Regions from separate parts of the Homo sapiens genome. Here region 1 is linked to region 2. Evidence: promoter capture Hi-C in 16 types of primary human blood cells and fetal thymus (Javierre and others, 2016). All regions are on one chromosome and are shown on one strand. Each heading gives the region's core, a stretch centred on a gene start or on the middle of the fragment in contact. The rest is flanking DNA. Distances are from core to core; before and after follow the strand shown.

What was found. Contacts are between HindIII fragments. The CHiCAGO score rates a contact against its expected background, and 5 or more counts as called.
Region 1: a contact is called between a fragment that was not itself captured here and the fragment with the promoter of MECOM in region 2, in 1 of 17 cell types (endothelial precursors). The highest score is 8.1, in endothelial precursors.

Annotation. Positions count from the first base shown.
Region 1 is chr3:169,300,940-169,303,773 of GRCh38, reverse strand. All of the region lies in intron 2 of MECOM (MDS1 and EVI1 complex locus), which reads left to right. Among named protein-coding and RNA genes, the nearest start is that of MECOM-AS1, 150 kb to the left of the region's middle. The HindIII fragment of the contact is 3,028 bases long and covers 32-2,834 here.
Region 2 is chr3:169,662,388-169,665,087 of GRCh38, reverse strand. MECOM (MDS1 and EVI1 complex locus) reads left to right here and starts at 1,376. Exons shown (of 17, transcript NM_004991.4): 1 at 1,376-1,752. The coding sequence starts at 1,716. RefSeq lists a silencer at 2,385-2,484. The HindIII fragment of the contact is 2,702 bases long and covers 1,155-2,700 here.

The DNA of each region.
Region 1 (2,834 bases), core at 296-2,795, 360 kb after region 2:
GAGGGAAAATGGCAGAGAGGTGCATAAAGCTTCCAATTCACTGGATTTATGGTATTGGAAACAGGATTTGGCTTTTTGAGTATTTGAAAAAATAAAGGGTTAGACAAAATCAGGATTGGATACTCACAACTTTGGGGCTGCTTCTGGTTGATACAGTTTTCAGAAGAGAAAGAAATTGAGTTTGAATGCCTTAAGTGGACTGTGTGGTTTGTTTCACATGGATTTCACCACTCCCTGTTATCTTACACTTGAGTGTTCACATCTTTACACTACCGCTTAAGGTCCCAGATATTGCAACGTCTGTTATGAATGACTTCTAACATGTCTTCCACCTCCACTGTTTTATGAATCTTTAGGTCAGGCACAGAGTTGGCATTTAGTAAACATATATTGAATAAATGAATGAATAGTAGTGTGATATATATATATATATCTGTTTCAAGTTGGGTTAGCCATGAATTCCATGAGTGAAATTTTCTGAAAATGCCATCAATGTGTGTCATTACATGGAGAGGAAAGAATGGCAAGGAACTTTCTTGTTTTGTGGGAAGGGGGAAGTTAGACTTTTGATGATGTTACAGACAATTGGCTTGGAATTTGTAGAAAATATGTAAAATGGTTTCTTTTAGTGAAAATCCAAAGAATTCTCTTGATCGGTGACATAAATTTATTGGTGGTGTTTTTCATGTGACCTTTTTGGGTGATCATTGTCTTAGAAAGAAATAATGTAAGAGTAGTTGAGTATATGTCATCTCTCTTCAAATAAATATTAAAGATGTGAAAATAATCTGAAAGAGGACTCCTCAGTGTGTTTAGGTTTTGGCTCTGTTCAAATTTTTCTTTGTTGTTAATCTTTTATCTGGTTTAGTAAAATCTAGTTTGTTTCTAAAATGTTACGCTTTTTTTTTTTGAGACAGAGTCTCCCTCTATTGCCCAGGCTGGAGTGCAGTGGTACAATCTCGGCTCATTGCAATCTCTGTCTCCTGGGTTCAACTGATTCTCCTGCCTCAGCCTCCTGAGTAGCTGGGATTACAGGTGCCTGCCACCACACCCAGCTAATTTTTGTATTTTTAGTAGAGATGGGGTTTGCTCATGTTGGCCAGGCTGGTCTTGAACTCATGACCTCAGTGATCCACCGGCCTCGGCCTCCCAAAGTGCTGGGATTACAGGCATGATCCACCACACCTGGCAAATATTACACTTTTAAAATTTATATTTGTTCATAGTTTTTCCCTGGTTCAAAAAATATTCATTCTATTCATTCTTTCAATCAATATTAACCAGGCGATAATTATAATGTAATAATTGTTTGAATTCACCAGATTTCTTTTTATTTTAGAGAAAAACCAACAGCAACAACAAAACCCTGAGGCACACAGACTGGGCCATGGGAAACAAACTCTGCCATTTTCACAGCAGGAGGTGTTGTGCCACCCCACGGCATTCCTGGTCCCTCTGCCTGCCCTGGAGCATTGGCACTGTGTCCAAGCTCTACCTTGAATCACTGATTCTCTTCTATTGTCTAAGACTGTGCTACATTTCTAACAGGACTTGATACATGGACATGTGTCTTCCTTTTCTCTACTTGTCTTGAAGCCACAGATACAGATTGTATATATTCAAGTTCAGCTATTGCTGGAGTGTCTAGTCCTGTCGGGCCCCAATTGTGTTTAAAAAGGCAAGGTAGTGGAACTCTCTTCATATTTGATAACCTAGAGGGAACATTTTAAAGCAATCATTGACATTTAGGAGGCATATATTCACTAAAAACCCCTCTTTGACATCTCCTAGAATAAGTACAGTCTTCTAAACATCATCTGGGTATTTAAACAAGCTGCACTGATGTCAGTGCTAAGCCCCCCTCCTTTGTGTTGCCCCCATCATATTGATTTATACTTGAAGGAAATGGACATAAAAGGATCCTGTATTTGGGGTTTATAAATTTTACAGAATAGGCTATAAATGAAGGATTAGTTTGTAAGTTTCACCTTGGTATTATTCTCAGTAATATAAATCCTATAAATATACTTTACTTGATTAACATGACTGAAAACTGTCATCAAAATTAGCATATCTTTTACATATCAGAAGCATCTTACCTCTTGGTAATTACATTATTTGATTTTCCTAGAGTAATGGGGAAAATTTTAATTTAGTTTAAAATATGAATAATGTTCACACCTGCAAACCATTATTCTGCCTCCTTAAATTTCAGGGTCTCATTCACATCATCTTACATTTCATTGCTTTGTTTGGGGATGGTGTTGAAAAAGTAAAATCATAGGACATGCCACTATTGTTGATTCTAAGTGAAAAGCCATAGGCTATCAACACTGCTAGTGCTTATTTTCTGCATTATGATAGAAAAAATAAAAGACATATTTTCTCCCAACTTTCCCTAGAGTGGATTGGGTGGCATCTTGCTTCACATGATATGAATCATACATTTTCCTTCTATTCAGATCTCTGTATTTCTATAATCACTTTGTCAACTTTAAGAAGGAGAGGAAAATGTTTTGATTGGAGGAATAAAGTCTGTTCAGGTTAGACATAATCTAGTCAGACACTCACCTTGTGCAGCTGTTTCACTTTCAGAGAATAATCATAACATTGTGTAGAATGATGATGAGATATGTTATTATCTAACAGAATCGCGCCGATATTTAATTAATTCCACATTAGCCAACTAACATGTTAAAAGAGAGCTGTGGCTAAGGTTTAAATACTGAACCCACAATATAGAAACAGAGCTAAGAAAGATTGCTTCAAGTTAATTCAGTAACTAGTGACAGCACGAGAAACAGAACTAAAAGTTCATGTCTTAGTTTAGGGCC
Region 2 (2,700 bases), core at 127-2,626:
AGCCAAATGCCCCCAGAATTACACAGCTCTGGATAAAGGAAAATGGTAGGCATCCTTAACAAGGACAAATTCTTTGAACTTTGATTCTCTTGAATAAAGAGATTTGCAGGCCATTGATACCCTTTGGGGTTGAACCTTGTTATTTGCTCTCTCATGTCTGCAGTCCTAGATTTGATAATAAATACCAACAGGTACGACTGGGCATTCTCAATGATTCCCCTTTCCCTCCACAGCCTTTGCCAAACTCATGCCCAGGACCTGCTTTTCTTTTCCTTTAACTTGAACATCAAGGATGTATTGTTGCAGCACGGAGACTGAAAAGATTGTAATTTTCTTTTATGGTGTCTGGCAGGATTTGCAACAGATATTAATGGGGACATAAATAGCACATGGAAGGTATTGAACAAAACTGTTTAATGCAAGAAGGTTGTACCAAAAGAAAATCTATACCTAGTTGGGATTGATTCATACCTTGTACACAGCTAGCCCCTTTAGGAATTCCCATTTCTGAGTGGCACTTCATTGGTAAATCCTGTAATTAAAGGAAATTTCAACAATGTATTTTTTTAAGAGTGTGTGATTTTCCTCCCTACTCCTCTTTCTTTTGACCCCGAGGTTGTAGGTTTAAGCGAGTGAGTGAAAATGGCAGGCAAGCAGAGCTGCATCGGGAGGCGACCGGGGCAGCAGTGGGGGAGGCCGGAAGGTGACAGCCGACCTCTGAGAAAGCAGGAGGTCTTTGGATGTCAAATGCCAGCGCCGGCCCGGACCCGGGAATCAAGGGTGATCATTACTACTTGGTAGGGAAAGAATACTGAAATGTCCCAAGGATGGCAGCAAGCATTGGTATTACAGCTAAAATCGAGGAAAAAACCAGTTATTTATTCTGCTTACAACCCTGAAAGCGGAAGCTGCAATAGCTTCAGTAGCAGTAGCAGCGGCAGCAGTAGATTTCTCAAGTTCAGGATGATTCTCACTTTCTCCTGGATTATTAGCCGAGGGTCCAGCCCTTCTAGTTCTTTAACAGGAGAAGGGTTTTTAAAAAATGTTTTTAAAGTTTTTTTCCCCCCTGGCTTCTTGCTTCCCTCGTAGATGGTATAGAAAAATGTCTGCAATTTATGGTGGGAAAAACAATAACAATAATCATGATACAAGCTTGTTGGCGATTCTAACATGGAATCAATCCTCTGCCCAAGCCTTTTCAATTCCCCCCTCCCCTTTTTTTGGGCGAGGTGTCTGCTCCCCTCTGGCTCCCTGCGTTCGCTCCCCGCCCCCCGCCGCCCTCCCCGCGGCTCCCTTTCTCCGCCTCCTCGGCGATTGCCATCTGACAAGATCTCCAAATCAAAGTGATAAATCGCTCCAAACTTTTTTTGGCGGCGCTGAGATGTTGGAGGGGCGTCTAGCGCGCATGTGCGAAGGTGTCCAAACTGACAATGCTGGAGAGATAGCGAGTGTGGATTGAGAGAAAGGGAGAGAGGGAGGGAGAGAGAGTGAAAGAAGAAAATACAGAGAGTGAGTGTGTGGAAGAGAGAGAGAAACAGGAGAGAAACAGGAGGGAGGGAGAGAGAGAGAGAGAGAGAGAGAGAGAGAGAGAGAGAGAGAGAGAGAGAGAGAGACAGGAGAGAGAGGGAGGGAGCGAGAGGGAGAGCAAAAGAAGGAAAGGATCCAAGAAAAAAAAGCCCCAACCACACACCAGCGGCTGCAGGACTGGGCACAGCATGAGATCCAAAGGCAGGGCAAGGAAACTGGCCACAAGTAGGTGCAATATCCCTTTTCTATTGGCTTTTCCCCCTCCTCTGCCATCTTGCATATCTGTCTCTAGCGCTCCGGGAGGGAGCGCGGGCTGCCTCTTGCGCCGGGGCCCCGGGTGGAGGGCAGGCGGAGCGCAGCCCCAGCAACCTGCCGGTTCCAGTCTCTGCTCCCGGTCGCCCGCGCTCTCGCTCCCGGGTTGGGCGCCGGAGGAGCCTGGGCAGCCCTCAGTCCCGCGCACCGACCAGCTGTGGCAACCCCGGGGTGGGGGTGGGGGTGGGGGCAGCAAAGACTAGGGGTGGGAGGGAGGAGAGAGCGCGAGAGTGAGCGCGAAGGGGTGGGGTGGGGGGGAAGAGAAGAGGAGAAAGTCTCCCCCTCCCCTCCCCTTCCCCCCAGGCGGGGGAGAGTTGCCTCTGGCCAACCAGCTAGTCCCGGGTGTGGGAGGAGGGGGGCGCGGGGGATGGGGGGCCGGCAGGAGAAGGGAGCCTTTTCGAGCCTCGGTTTGTTTCTGGGGTTTGGGTAGGGTAGGCGGCTCAGAGGGAGCCACAGTGGCGGCGGCGGCGGGCGGCTGTGGTGGACTTGGGAAAAGTTGCGAGGCGGCCGCTGGAAGTTGCGCGGGCGGGCGGGTGGACTGCGCCGAGCCGCGGCTGCGGTAGTGGGCGCTGTGCGCTCGGCCATGCTCTCCGGCGCGGCGCTGCGCGGCGGGAGGACTGCGGCGGGGAGTAGGGGACACCAAGGTGGGGGCTGTGATCGCGGGGTGGGGGCGGGGGCACGGGCAGAGCAGAGCTACCGGCTCCGCACAGCCACGCGCAGGTGGGGAGGAAAGAGGCCCAGCGAGCGCTCGGACGTGGGGAGAGAAGAGGCCCAGCGAGCGCTCGGAGAGCCGGGAGTGGAGGGCACACAGCCAGCGGCGGCAGCCTAGGAGCAGGAGGCAGAGAGGGCGCGCTGCGACCC